Linked DNA regions of Homo sapiens: region 1 is linked to region 2. Evidence: promoter capture Hi-C in 16 types of primary human blood cells and fetal thymus (Javierre and others, 2016). All regions are on one chromosome and are shown on one strand. The core of a region is centred on a gene start or on the middle of the fragment in contact, and the rest is flanking DNA. Distances in the headings are between cores, read along the strand shown. Region 1 has its middle 4.3 kb from the start of DDI2. Region 2 holds the start of WRAP73 (WD repeat containing, antisense to TP73).

Region 1 (7,521 bases), core at 3,534-6,033, about 12 Mb after region 2:
GCTGGTCTCGAACTCCTGACCTCGGGATTCGCCCTCCTCTGCTTCCCAAAGTGCTGGGATTACAGACATGAGCCACCGCATCCGGCCTAATTTTTATATTTTTAGTAGAGATGGGGTTTCACCGTGTTGGCCAGACTGCTCTCGAACTCCTGGCTTCAAGTGATTTGCCTGCCTTGGCCTCCCAAAGTGCTGGGATTACAGGTATGAGCCACCACGCCCAACTCTGTCTTTTTTATTATAGCCATCCTAGTGAGCATAAAGTGGTATCTCATTTTGGTTTTACTTTGTATTTTTATTTTATTATGCTTATAGTTTCTGTAGGTCAGAAATTCAAAGGCAATACAGTGGAGACGGCTCCATAATGTCTGAAGCCTCATCTGGAAAGACTCATAAGTTGGAGATGATTCAACATCTGGGGGTTGAAGTCATCTGAAAGTGTCTTCACTTCTGTGCTTGGTGAGTTTTCCCGCTAATCAGCTTTCCCCTCAGCTGAGCAGCTTTCTGGAACAACCACACGTATTTTCTCCATGCGGTCTCACCGTGTGGTGTAGTTTGGGCTTCCTCACAGCATGGCTGCTGGGTTCCAAGAGCAAGCGTTCCAAGAGAATCACGGAGAAGCTGTACTGACTTTTTTTCAGCCATTGATTTATTTTTATTTGCAGTTTGTATTCAATACAAATCAATTTCATAACAAGTTACTATGAATCAAAGCATACACACACAAATATACAATCCAAAATAGATGTACAGCATTTCGGCATGGAGCAAAAGGGAGTGTTCATTCACACACACAGTGGAGTGGGTTCAGATCTGTTCCATCTGCTGTTCCCGTGTAGGTTTCTAAAGATGGAAAAAAAAAGACTACTGTGGCCATATTAGATGCTGGAACACATAAGCATCAGTGTGTGACCTTGTGAACAAAGGACTTCAGGGAGTGTCTATTTTTAAAAAGGTTTCTGTGTGTCAAGACAGTTGTAAACATTTTTATTACAGAATCAAGCTTACTTTGCGGTTTAGGACCAGGTTCTAACTATCTAAAAATATTGACATAACAAAATGTGTTTCAAACAGGGCATGATGGCTCATGTCTGTAATCCCAGCACGTTAGGAGATGAGGTAAGAGGATTGCTTGAGCCTAGGAGTTCAAGAACAGCTTGGGAACATAGAAAGACTCCTATTTCTACAAAAAGATAAAAATTCGCTGGGAATGGTGGCACACGCATGTAGTGCTAGCTACTTGGGAGGCTGAGGCAGGAGGATTGCTTTAGTCCACGAGGTTGAGGCCGCAGTGAACTCTAGCCTGGGTAACAGGGTGAGACCATGTCTCTTAAAAAAAAAGGCCCCAGCTGGGTGCGGTGGCTCACGCCTGTAATCCCAGCACTTTGGGAGGCTGAGGTGGGCAGATCACGAGGTCAGGAGTTCAAGACCATCCTGGCCAACATGGTGAAATGCCGTCTCTACAAAAAATACAAAAATTAGCGAGGTGTGGTGTTGTGCACCTGTAATCCTAGCTACTCGGGAGGCTGAGGCAGGAGAATCACTTGAACCTGGGAGGCGGAGGTTGCAGTGAGCCAAGATCGCTCCATTGCACTCCAGCCTGGGCGACAGAGTAAGACTCTGTCTCAAAAAAAAAAAAGCCCCAAAATGTGTTTTAAATGCAGCTATTCTGATCCATAGTTGTTGTTTGCAAAAAGCATTTACAGAAAAAGAGTATAGCCTGGGCACGGTGGCTCAGGCCTGTAATCCCAGCACTTTGGGAGGCTGAGGCGGGCAGATCACCTGAGGTCAGGAGTTTAAGACCAGCCTGACCAACATGGAGAAACTCCATCTCTACTAAAAATACAAAATTAGCCGAGCGTGGTGGTGCGTGCCTGTAATCCCAGCTACTCAGGAGGCTGAGGCAGGAGAATCGCTTGAACCTGGGAGGCGGAGGTTGCGGTGAGCCAAGATCATGCCATTGCACTCCAGCCTGGGCAACAAGAGTGAAACTCCATCTCAAAAAAAAAAAAAAGAAAGAAAGAAAAAGAAAAGAGTATAAAAGTTTTTGTGACTTTAATGCAAGTTAACTTTCAGTCTTTACTTTCCAAATACTTGATATACAGTTTTTGGCTCCTTTACATTTTTGCCCTTTTAATTTCAAGGTTTATAATTTTACCTTCAAAACAGATCTTTTTTTGTTTTTTGAGATGGAGTCTCACTGTGTCTCCCAGGCTGGACAGCAGTAGCATGATCTTGGCTCACTGCAACCTCTGGCTCTAAGGTTCAAGCAATTCTCCTATCTCAGCCTCTGAGTAGCTGGGATTACAGGCACACCACCATGCCCAGCTAATTTTTGTATTTTTAGTAGAGACAGGGTTTAATCTTGTTGGTCAGGCTGGTCTCGAACTCCTGACCTCAAGTGATCCACCTGCCTCAGCCTCCCAAAGTGCTGGGATTACAGGGGTGAGCCACCGCACCCAGCCCCTTAATGAATCTGGTGTCCTTGTTGAACGAAAATAGGTGAAATGAAATGCCTACCATTTGACTCTCTAAGGATAAACAAGAGTTATTGATGATGCTTGGACTTGGGGGTAGATTGCAGTCTATCATTGCCCTGGCACATGTCAATTACTAAATAAAAGGTCAAATGCAATGTCAAATCCAAATCCTCAGAGGAAAAAGAATTCAGTTACCAAAAGAACAGTGATAGCCTAACAATGTAAAACTTAATATATTGGCATTAAATTAGTACTGCTGAAATAATACATTGAGGATTTATAGAATGATGGAAGCTTTTTTTTTTTTTTTTGAGACGGAGTCTCACTCTGTCTTCCAGGCTGGAGTGCAGTGGTGCGGTCTCAGCTCACTGCAGCCTCCACCCTCCGAGTTCACACGATTCTCCTGCCTCAGCCTCCCGAGTAGCTGTAATTACAGACACTTGCCACCGTGCCCAGCTAATTTTTTGTATTTTTAGTAGAGATGGGGTTTCACCATCTTGGCCAGGCTGGTCTTGAACTCCTGACCTTGTGATCCACCCGCCTTGGTCTCCCAAAGTGCTGGGATTACAGGTGTGAGCCACTGCACCCAGCCGATGGAAGCTTTTTTAAACTTTAAGACAGGATCTTGCTCTGTCACCCAGGCTGGAGTGCCATGATAATGGCTTACTGCAGCCTTGACCTCCAGGGCTGAAGTGATCATCCTACCTCAGTCTCTTGGGTAGCTGTGACCACAAGTGTGTGACACCATGCCCACCTCTTTTTTTAAATTTGTGGGCCAGACACGGTGGCTCACACCTGTAATCCCAGCACTTTGGGAGGACGAGAGAGCTGGATCGCCTGAGGTCAGGAGTTTGAGACCAGCCTGGCCAACATGGTGAAACCCCATCTCTACTAAAAATACAAATATTAGCTGGGCATGGTGGCATGCTCCTGTAGTCCCAGCTACTCAGGAGGCTAAAGAAGGAGAATGGCTTGAACCCGGGAGGTGGAGATTGCAGTGAGCTGGGATCGTGCCATGGCACTCCAGCCTGGGGGACAAGAGTGAAACGCTGCCTCAAAAAAAAAAAAGGAGATTATGGCCAGGTGCAGTGGCTCATGCCCGTAATCCCAGCACTTTGGGGGGCCCAGTGGGTAGATCACCTGAGGTCAGGAGTTTGCGACCCGCCTGGCCTACATGGTGAAACCCTGTCTCCACTAAAAATACAAAAATTAGCCAGGTATGGTGGTGGGTGCCTGTAATCCCAGCTACTCAGGAGGCTGAGGCACAAGAATCACTTGAACCTGCGAGGCAGAGGTTGCAGTGAGCTGAGATCGCACCACTGCACTCCAGCCTGGATGGCAGAGCGAGACTGTGTCTCAGAAAGGAAAAACAAAAAATAAAAATTAGCGGGGCATGGTGGTGCAGGCCTGTAATCCCAGCAACTTGGGAGGCTCAGGCAGGAGAATCACGAGCCAGGGAAGTGGAGGTTGCAGTGAGCTGAGCTCGCACCACTGCACTCCAGCCTGGGCAACAGAACAAGACTCCATCTCAATAAATAAATAAATTAATTAAATTAAAATAAATTTTTTTTTGTAGAGATGGGGTCTCACCCTGTTGCCCAGGGTGATTTCAAACTCCTGGGCTCAATCGATCCTCCTGCTGTGGCCTCCCAAAGTGCTAGGATTACAGGTATGAGCCACCCCCACCCCTGCCAATGGAAATCTTTTATTTTACTGGTTTTACTGCCGTATAGACTTAATGAACCAAATGAAAACTGAATCTCCACTCCATATTACATCTTTATTTCTAAACAAGATAAAATCTATTATTTATTATTATTTTTTTTTTATTACCCAAGTTTTGTCTCAGGATCTACTATTCTTATTTTCAAGGTAGTTTTAACTGTCCACATTTCTTAAGCCACATTCAAGAAATAATGTCTTCAATTTTGGATGTTGCCTCTCTTCATCTTGTACATGACATTTAAGCAGATTTAATATTGGCATCCATCATCTAGTCAAACCCTTCACGTGTTCTTCAAAGCAATTAAATTTGGGGTTCTCAACCTTTTCTTTCTTTCTTTCCTTTTTTTTTTTTTTTGAGATGGAGTCTCACTCTGTCGCCCAGGCTGGAGTGCAATGGCGCGATCTCGGCTCACTGCACCCTCTGCCTCCCATGTTCAAGCCATTCTCCTGCCTCAGCCTCCTGAGTAGCTGGGATTACAGGCACACACCACCACGTCTGGCTAATTTTTATATTTTTAGTAGAGACGGGGTTTCACCATGTTGGTCAGGCTGGTCTTGAACTCCTGACCTTGTGATCCACCTGCCACCTGCCTCGGCCTCCCAAAGTGCTGGGATTACAGATGTGAGCTACCGCGCCTGGCCTTTTTTTTTTTTTTTTTTTTTTTTGAGACAGAGTTTTGCTCTTGTTGCCCAGGCTGGAGTGCAATGGCGCAATCTCGGCTCACTGCAACCTCTGCCTCCCAGGTTCAACCAATTCTCCTGCCTCAGCCTCCCAAGTAGCTGGGATTACAGGCATCCACCACCATATCTGGGTAATTTTTCTGTACTTTTAGTAGAGACGGGGTTTCACCATGTTGGCCAGGCTGGTCTCAAACTCCTGACCTCAGGTGATCCACCTGCCTCGACCTCTCAATGTGTTGGGATTACAGGCATGAGCCACCACACCTGGCCAGGTTCTCAACCTTTTCTGTATCAGTAAAAGAAGGTGTGAAATTAATAGATTTGATGAAGACCCGCTTTTTTTCTTGCCACATTGGACTCCTAGATGCCATTTGGAATGGGTTTAGAAGACACGGAAGTATAGATGTTTCTTAACAGTAGAAATATAGAAGAGAAAGCAAGACCATGAGGAGACTGGCAGTTGACTGCAGGGCACAGCCAACTGCCTTGGTGGTGGCATTAGCTGGGTTTGGGGCAGACAAGGTACCCTGGGAGGAGTTACTTGAAAACGTTACAATAGTTTGATTTGAATAAATCTGCATAAGTAGGAGCAGTGCCAGAAGCAGCAGCCCCAGCCTGAGCCTGTCCACCATTGCTTTGTCCCCTCCATTGGTGTCTGGCATATATTGCTGGATGCTGGGTGAGAACTGCTGGCTCCAGGTGGACACAGGCGAGACCTAGCCTTAAAAATCACACAAAGTGGCTGGGTGCGATGGCTCACATCTGTAATCCCAGTACTTCGTGAGGCCAAGGTGGGAGGATCACTTGAGGCCAGGATTTGGAGATTAGCCTGGTCAACATAGCAAGGACTCATCCCTATTTTTTTTAACTAAAAATAATGTAAAATCATAATAAAAAGGAAATCAAGCCTGGGCAACATAGCAAGATCTCATCTCTACTAAAAAGAAATTAGCTGCGTGTGGTGGTGCACACCTGTAGTTCCAGCTGCTGGGGAGGTTGAGCTGGAGGGATCACTTGAGCCCTGGAGGTTGAGGCTGCAGTGAGCCATGATCGTGCCACTGCACTCCAGCCTGGGTGACAGAGCCAGACCCTGTCTTGATAAAAAAAAAAAAAAAAAAGGAAATCACATAATGTCACTTATGCCAGAGTTAGTCTGCCGAGCCATGATTCAAAGGGAGGGACATTCACCCCACTTCTTAATGGGAGGGTTATCCAATCATGTTGTAGGAAGAGCATAGACGATGGGAGGCACTGTCATGGTCATCTTTGGAGAACAAAATCTGCCAGACCTGGGAACCTGAGCACCACTAGACCAAATATAACAATTAATCAATGATTCAAGCCTCAACTGATTCCTTGATACCACCACTGGGCAATCCTAGAACATTTCTCAGCTAAACTTGCTTCAATTTGCAATGGTTATTTCAAACATTCACTGTAGAAGGCACTGTGTACATCTTTCCTAATACCCATTCCCAGCCCCCCTTTTCCCTATTTATGTCCTTTAGGCAAAGCTAAATACTTGCGTTCCTAGCCTCTCTTGCATCTATGTGACACAATTCTGTCCAGTGAGATGTAAGCAAAAATGTGCACAGGGACTTCTGGGCAAGCTTTTTCCTTGAATAGGAAAATGATGCGTGCAGTGGAGGCAGCCAGCCATATATTGCAACCCTCAGGAAAAGGTCAAGACAATTACAAAAGTATTGGCCCTGATTTCAGTGAGCCACTCAACCAGTGCTGTTGCTACCTCCAGGCCTTCTCTCCTGTGAGAAAACAAACCCTTGTTTGTTTAAGCCACTGATAGTCAAGCTTTCTGTTGCTCCTAGGGGATATAAGCATTCTCACTCCCCTGTGCCTCTACTTTCTCTTTTTTTTTTTTTTTTTTGAGACAGAGTCTCGCTCTGTCTCCCAGGCTAGAGTGCAGTGACCTGATCTCGGCTCACTACAACCTCCGCCTCCCGCGTTCAAGTGACCCTCCTGCCTCAGCCTCCCGAGTAGCTGGGACTATAGGTGTCCGCCACCATGCCCGGCTAATTTTTGTATTTTTAGTAGAGACGGGGTTTCACCATATTGGCCAAGCTGGTCTCGAACTCCTGACCTTGTGATCCGCCCGCCTTGGCCTCCCAAAGTGCTGGGATTACAGGCGTGAGCCACCGCGCCCAGCTCCTCTAATTTCTCTTTGTAAAAGCCTTCAGCTGCTAATTCTCCCTTTCCTGCCACCAACAGCCTACTTACTACCTACTTACCTGCACCCACAGCCATCTTATTTGCTCCTTCTCTCCTGTTAAAATGGAAAAGGGCTCCCTACCATGGAGGGGGAGTGGGAGTAAATGGAAAGATGCTAATCTGGCATCCATTACAAGTTCATCTTTCAGTTTTGGTTTTCTTACTCATCCGCACCTTAGTTCTGGGCCTCTACCACTCATCAGCTGTGTGCCTTAAAAACAGGCCATTAAAGTAGCAAATATTTATTGAGTAGATTCTAAGCTGTGCCCAAAAAGGCACTGCGCTAGGTGGTAGGAGTTGCTAGGGCTAGGAAACAGACACAGTCCAAGTAGAGAGAAAATTATTTACAAGACAGGGGAATGGAGCCTTGGAGGAACTGACCTATGTGGCTGGGAGGGCAGAGAATGTGGGA
Region 2 (7,746 bases), core at 4,386-6,885:
ATGAGACTGATGGACGGTGCCCGCAGCTCACTTCCTGGCCAGCACGTCTGGAATTCCGGTTTTGTTTCCTCACTTGCAACCATTAAAGTTCGCATGCAAAGCTGGAGACACATTTTGACATCTTGGTCAAGATGCCCCATGCCTTGAGGTTACCGGTCCTCATCCACCACCTGGTCTTAACGTTTCCTCTAAGGCCACCAGCAAAGTGGTCATGACCTTAGTCTTAGGTTGAACAATGTCATCTAAATGTACTCTATGAAAAATCAGTTTGTTCTGTAGCAAAGGTGTTTTCAATATTGGTGTGTGTGACATGGGATGCTCAACAAAACCAGGCTTTTATCCATCTTTTAAGGTTTCTAAACTCTATAGATGGTAGTTTTCCTTCTGGGCCATTTAATAAGATAATACAACAAGGCTGACCCCATGACATGAGCCCTTCTCAAGGGCAGATTTGGGCCCAAAGCATTACAGGCCTGAAGACTGTTAGACACGGCTGCGTGAAAAGCTCAAATTATCCTCTCTGAAACACTCAGGCCGAAAGTGCCTTCCAATGTCAATACATAGTGCGGAGACATTGGTGGGCCTTTGTTTCCTGTCTTATTCTCTGACAGCCCATAATAGCAGACATTAGATTTGGAGTATTTTTTAAAATCGAAACTGAAAAATATGTAAAGCCATCCAGCCATCTGAAGCAGTTGATTCAGCAACCCTCATGGCTGGATAAAACTTTATCCCAGCCGATGCCAGCTTGAAAAAAGCCGAATGAAACCCTACAGAGCATCTGCAGCCACACGCTGGGAGAAATCCTCCCAGGTGCCATCATCTACGTGGTGTGCGCGGCGCAGCGGGACGGGAGGGCTGCAGTGTGGTGTGAGCGGCGCAGCGGGATGGGCGGGTTGCCCCGTGGTGTGCGTGGCGCAGCGGGACGGGCGGGTTGCCCCGTGGTGTGCGCGGCGCAGCGGGACGGGCGGGTTGCCCCGTGGTGTGCGCCGTGCAGCGGGACGGGCGGGTTGCCCCGTGGTGTGCGCGGCGCAGCGGGATGGGCGGGTTGCCCCGTGGTGTGCGCGGCGCAGCGGGATGGGCGGGTTACCGAGGTGCAGCCAGCAGCCCAGACAGCTATGAGCACTCAGTGGACTTGGGCCCAAACACTGGGATCCAACTCCATCAGAAAAGCACATTATTAAAGGAATTCGTCCATTTTTCTGTATCTTAAAAAGACACTGCGGACACCAAAGACCTGGTATCTAAACACTTGACATATGCCTAATTTTAACTTAAAATGCAGTCTCCTATCCCAGATCCCTCTGATTTATTCTCGGATGTCAACATTCCCCTCCGCGCTGAGCTCAGCACGGAGGCTGTTGTGCGGTACCTACAGCAGGTGAATGGGCGGCTGCCGACCGCCCCGAGCCACGCCCCCAGGCCAGGCTCCTGAAGGAAAGGTGCGAGCCGGCTCATATCACAGCGCATTTTCTATCGTTGAATTAAAGGGAGTGCCGAAATCCTAAAAAATCTAAATTAAGATTTTTAAAATGTTTTTTCTTCAAAACTGGACAAAAGATCAGACAATAATACTTAGTGGCTTATAATGCTCTGACCTAAAATATACACACCACTATATACGCTCCCCGGCTCCCTCCAACCCCGCCAATCTACCAGCCACTCGGGAGCCACCTCAGTCATCAGACCCAGGGCAGCAGACAGTGCCTGTGTTCACGACACCCTTATCTGACTCAGTAGCAGCCCAAAGCACGGGCGGTGGGGCTCGCAATCTGGATACGCCAAAGAGAAGCCACAAAGTGCTTCCTTTAAATGACGAGCTGAAAGTTCTTGACGCAACAAGGAAAGAAAAAATCCTATGCTGAGGTTGTTGCTCAGATCTTCAGTAAGACCAAATCTTCTATCCATGCAATTATAAACAGTATATTGTTATCCTTGTTCTATACTATGATTGTTGCTAATCTCTTACTGTATCTAATTTATAAATTAAATGTATCACAGGTATGCTGTATAGGAAAAAACACAGGAAATACAGGGTTTGGTACAATCTGAATCCCCTGGTGGTCTTAGAATGCATCCCCTGAGGATAAGGGGAGACTAGCATACTCCAAACACACCCCCTCTCGCACTCCCCAGCTGTTTCGAGAGCAGAGGACAGGATCACATGGCCAGTAAGGTGTCTTGGGGCTGACACTTACATGGAATTCCGTGGTGTTGAGAATGTGGCGCCCGTCCGGGCTCCAGCACGAGGCCACCAGCCCGGCTGAGCCCTCGTCTATTTTGCAGTGCCATTCGGGCTGCTCTAAAGACCAGACCTGGATTGAGAGAAGAAAGAAACACACAAGTGCAAACTCATCAGCACCGAGAGACAGCGAGGACAGCTCGCTTAAACGCAGCGGAGACCCGACCGCACAGGGTGTCTTCAAACTCATCAGCAGTCTATAGCGAGGCCTCGCCGAGAGACAACTCCCTTAAAACCAGCAGAGACCCGATCACACAGGGTGTCTTTTAGAACCTTTCATGATGAAGGGCTGGTGCTGGATTCCAGTGTAAAAGTAAGCCACGCTTCTTGGTGATTTCATTTCGTTGTTGTTTTAAAACTGTTTATTCACATTGTCATTCCTAAGACCTCATTTAGTTAAGCTTTGGACACAGAAGAAAACACGACTTCTTAGGACTTCCTGAAACACACCACATCCGCGTGGCTAGATTGCTGTCAACACCTCCGTTTCTCAACTATATTGCTTAGAAATTAAGACTACGTTGGAGTTTCCTTAGTTTAAATGTTCTTAAACTTTAGAGAACGTTATAATTTCAAAAGAAAACTGGCTTTGAGCTGCACGGACTTTTTTTTCAAACTAGAAAGGCACAGAACAAAACCCCTCCTTCCCAGGGGCCCTCAGAAGGTGTCCAGATTCTAAGCGACACGGCAGCACACACCTGCACCAGCCCTCGCTTGTACATGGCGCACAGGATGAAGAGCGAGTCTGCCGACCACTCGATGTGCTGGATCTGGTCTAGGCACGTGTACAGCTGAAGGATCTGAAGGGTGTTCACATCCCGGACCACTAACCGGTACTGGACACAGGAAGCCTAAAAAATATGAGAAAGCAAGCACCTGACATTCTCCACTCCAAAAGAGGGGGGCCTTCGGAATGCTACTGCCCTGGCCTTCAGTGACTGTGGCCTTCTCTCCTGCCAGAGGTTTCATGTCTAGATCACCAGTGACATCCCCAGCCCCTAAAGATCAGTTCAGTTCATACAAGGGTAATGTTGAAATATACAAGCCAGGTTTTAATATTGCTATACTCTATTGTAAAGTATAAAAGTATGTTTTAACTCGCTACTTAAAGCTTTAAGACATTTTTAAGTCCCTTCTTATCTGTATGTTAAAAACTAAACTTAAATGGGAAGTAGCATTGGGAGAAAGCTCTTCTGTGAACTAATAACCAAAATCCTCTGCTAGTTTTATAAACACTTTTGGACAATTTCCTCAAATTTATAAAGGGTAAGAATTGAGGCTTCACAGATGACAACGAAAATGGCAAGGAATGCATCAATCTTCTTATGCAGTGCCGAACTCAGAGCCAAAACAACAGAAGATCAAAAGACAGGCTTTCACTTCTGCACACATAAAGATGCTTCGCAAATGCTCATTTATCTCCATTAACCTATTCCTAACACGAAACGGGAAATGTTTAAGTGTTAGTACTATTTTCTTAAAGATAGTTTCTTCTTGTCCATATTTGTTCATTATGTCCCTATCCAAGCAAACAATTTCAAGTAAAAATAACGCCTGAGTACTCACCTGCTGAATGTATATTTTACTACAGTTTCAAGATCAAGAACTGATGTTTAAATATTAACTGCTTCGTTAGTTTTACTTATCAAGGTCAAAGTAGTTTGTGTTTTATGAACCGATATCAAAAAAGAAAGCCACGTTAGTTTTCCGTGGGAGAAAAGAGAGACAGGCGGGTGACGGCAGATTGGAACAAGGAGCTACCACAGCACTTACTTTCTCACACTGTAGCTTTGAAAACTGTGATCAGTTACAGTGAATTCCTTATGAAATGGAATATTTTTACCAACACCTTGAGGAACCACATAAACTCTACTGCAAGATATGAAAACTAGAAACATGGACCTGCTCTCCCCAGTCCTCAGGGCTTTCAAGAAGATGATTCCAGTAACAGATCATTACCAAGTGTTTCAGGGTATTTTGACCAGAGTGTACAAGCTGGAAAAAAACACCCAAGTTAAGCAAGCAGATGTAATCTTTCTCCTTATAATTCACTGAAATTTTCATAAATGGTAAAAACAAAAAACAAACCTCTCATTTAATTGAGGAGGGGGGCACATTGAAAATATACCAAGGCTGAGATGCCATTTAAACTAATGAGGTTTTCTGTTTTGTAGCTGATGCTATTTTATGTGATTTGGAATAAAACCTCCCTGAAGAGGTAAAAAACGTAATTTGAGAGTTAAACTCTCAAAAGCTAGACAGAGCACAGGAATGTCAGGAGTGGCAAAACCTGAAAAAGCATCATGATACATCAGTCAGTTAGTACAGGTGGTGGATAAGGAAAACGAAGCCCACTTTTTACGAGGCATGTTTCTTCTTAGTGGCTTTCCAATGCCAATTGTCCCCCTCTTCTGAGGACATACATACTAGGCATCCGGGTTATCCCTCTCTTCTGAGGATATACACTACTAGGCATCCAGGTACATACACTATATGTTTTGAAGCTTAAAGTTATAGCTCTGTGATTTAAGCACCCTTCTGCCACCCATGGAACGAAGACCTCAAATCCCAGCCATGAGGACAACTACTTCCTTACCTGGGGATAGAATACTAGTATTTAAATCATTTATTCGGCATGTGGTAGAGGAGAAGAGAATTAGAGGAGAAGTAGAGATGACAAAGTAGCCACACCACTTACCAGTTTACAGGCAACAGAATCATCAATTTGCCTTTTGTGACAAAGTAACAACAAAGAGCCGACATCTCCTATACCCTCACCTGTGTGCAGTCGGCACTGCCGATACCCACCTTTCCAAGGGCACCTCCCCAGACCCCCCACCTGTCTACGGTATCTTCCTGGGTCCCGCACCTGCCCGGGCACCTGCCGGGGTCCTGCACCTGTCCGGCCCCCATATCTGCTTGGGGTACCTGCCTGGGCCCCGCACCTGCTTGGGGTACCTGCCTGGGCCCCGCACCTGCTTGGGGCACCTCCCCGGGCCCTCCACCTGTCTAGGGTATCTTCCTGGGTCCCGCACCTGTCTGGGGCACTTGCTCAGACACTGCACCTGCCCCGGGTACCTGCCCGGGCCCCGCACCTGTCCGGGCACCGCACCTGCAGGATCCCCAAGCTGCCTCCACCCACGCGGCCGCCCCCGGCCCTGCCCGCCGGGGACGCTGGCACCGAGGATGTCCTGCCCGTGGCCCAGGTCCCCGCCGCTCACCAGGTACTTGCCGTCCGGGGAGAACTTGCAGAGTAAGCTGGAGAGCTTGAATACCTCGGAGAAGTTCATGGCCGCCGCCTGCCGCGGGCGCCACCCTGCGCCCGAAAACCCGCGGGACCCCTGGGCGCGCAGCAGGCTGCAACAGCCGACGCCGGCCTCCGAGGCCGGAAGTCAGAAGGCGGAAGTGAACTGCAGCCTATCAGCGCCGCCGGCTTCCGCGCGGCATTGTGGGGCTTGTAGTTCTTGTGCCGCAGGGCTTTAAAGGAAACGCCCACGTTTCTTCCGACCAGGGATTTCCGACCCGAGAACCTTACCTCAAAGGCCGGGAGGCCTTTGAGCACCTCCAGCTAGGGCTGCTGATAAAAATGTAGAAAGCACAGTAAAATTTGAATTTCAGATTCACAACAAATCTAGTTATAAGTATGTTCCCAAATATTGCACGGGACATGCTAATACGGAAAAATTACTCGCTAGTCTGAAATTCAAATTTAATTGAGCGACCTGTGTGTCTGCGTGTGTGTACACATGCATATATATATATTTATATTTATATGTAAATGTATGTTTACATGTAAATATATGTTTACCTACAAATATATCTTTAATAAGTAATACGGTGTCTGTCGCACATATATTATATCGTGTATGTAATGTATAAGTATTTATTTCGTTTGCTTGGGGTTTTGTTTGCTTTTGCTGAGTCCGACCCCTCTACCTGCCGCCTGGCCCTTGCCTCACGCTCCAGTGCCACTGAGATCAAGGAGAGAACGAATTTGCCGCTGACTGGGCAGAGCGAGCGCGTGGATCGCGGCCACCGCCCGTTCATCACCCGCGCGCATCTGGGCTGGCACCGGGCGAAGAATCGTGCGGGTCTGGGACCTGGGGGCCCAGAGGGAGCGAGCTCCTGCGCGGGCGCTCGGTCCGCAGGTTTCGCAGGCTCAGGGGCGTGCCTCGTTCTCACCCCCACTCCGGACCCCGGTCCTCTTCCCTAGACAGCGGCCCCCTCCACCCCTGGCTCCCGCAGGCCGCTAGTAGTCCGCGCCAGGCCCCGCCGGCGCCTCTAGGGCCCCCCAGATCGCGCAGACCCTGACATCCCCGCCTGGCCCTGGGTTCTGGGAGCTGAGAGCCGGCCAGGGTCCTGCTCGTACCTCCGGGCGCCCAGCCTCGGGTCTGCTCCCCGCGGACGCCCCAACCTCCCCGGCCGAATGGATGGTGGTGCGCGCGCGTCCTACTCCGGCGGTGCCGGCCTTTTCTGTTGCCAAAACTAGACCCAAACCTCTGCATGGGATTCGTCTTTGGGTCCCCACCCCGTGCGCCCAGCAAACAGTGGGTGAGCCATGAAGATGTGCGAGTCAGCCGGACCCTCCCCGTCAGGCGCGGACCCGCTGCGGCCAGAGAACCCAGTCTGCGCCAGCCCGGCTCGCTCGCGAAGCCACGGGCTTCACTGACGCGACTTTCCAAGACGTGGGGGTCACCATGGGCAGAGGACATCGGTTCGGAGCCAGATCACGGGCCCCATAAGCATCAGACCATAAGCAGCGCCGCCACTGAGAGCCGCTCGGAACTCGCCCAGCATGTCGGGTCCCCTAGCCAGGGCCTGGTGTACGTGGTCGAGGGCCCTGGAAGCCCCGATGGCCTAGGAGGAGCAGGCGGGCGGGGCGGCGGGTGTCGCTGGCCGGTAGAGAGCTTCGGCCTGACCTAGCGCAGGTCTGGTGCGCGCAGAGAACAACTCCAAGCGCACCGACGCCCGCGAGCTCCTTCCAAACACCGAACGGGATCCAGAGCCCGAGCCCACAGGCGGCGGCCGGGGGAGGGAGCAGGGTGCTGGCCGCCGCCCGGGAGTGTTCGCGTCCTGGGTGACCCCTGGAAGGACGTGGGGCCCAAACTCCGGCTGGGGTTGGGAGAGCAGCCCCCAGAGGCTCTCCGCGGGATCCTCTGCCGGGCGGGACCGTGGCTCCACAGGAGAAGTGGGTGGCAAGCCCTGCTTGGCGGAAAGCAGCCGTTCCCCTCCTCCTGGGCCTGGGGCGGCGCCCCTCACCCCTGTTCCCCGCCCCTCACCCCTGTTCCCCGCCGGCCACATCCCCTGCCCCTTGGATTCCAAGCGCCCCGCGCGCCGAGGAGCCCAGCGCTAGTGGCGGCGGCCAGGAGAGACCCGGGTGTCAGGAAAGATGGGCCGTCTGGGGGACAGCAGGGAGTCCGGGGGAAACGCAGGCGTCGGGCACAGAGTCGGCACCGGCGTCCCCAGCTCTGCCGAAGATCGCGGTCGGGTCTGGCCCGCGGGAG

The links. Contacts are between HindIII fragments. The CHiCAGO score rates a contact against its expected background, and 5 or more counts as called.
Region 1: a fragment that was not itself captured here is called in contact with the fragment with the promoter of WRAP73 in region 2 in 1 of 17 cell types (neutrophils); the score reaches 5.5 in neutrophils.

Annotation. Positions count from the first base shown.
Region 1 is chr1:15,609,350-15,616,870 of GRCh38, forward strand. It overlaps the pseudogene CD24P1. Among named protein-coding and RNA genes, the nearest start is that of DDI2, 4.3 kb to the right of the region's middle. The HindIII fragment of the contact is 3,416 bases long and covers 3,076-6,491 here.
Region 2 is chr1:3,644,468-3,652,213 of GRCh38, forward strand. It overlaps WRAP73 (WD repeat containing, antisense to TP73), which reads right to left and starts at 5,636. Exons shown (of 12, transcript NM_017818.4): 1 at 5,464-5,636; 2 at 2,941-3,093; 3 at 2,199-2,315. The coding sequence starts at 5,532. RefSeq lists an enhancer at 5,857-6,700 and a silencer at 7,660-7,746. The HindIII fragment of the contact is 11,564 bases long and covers 4,745-7,746 here.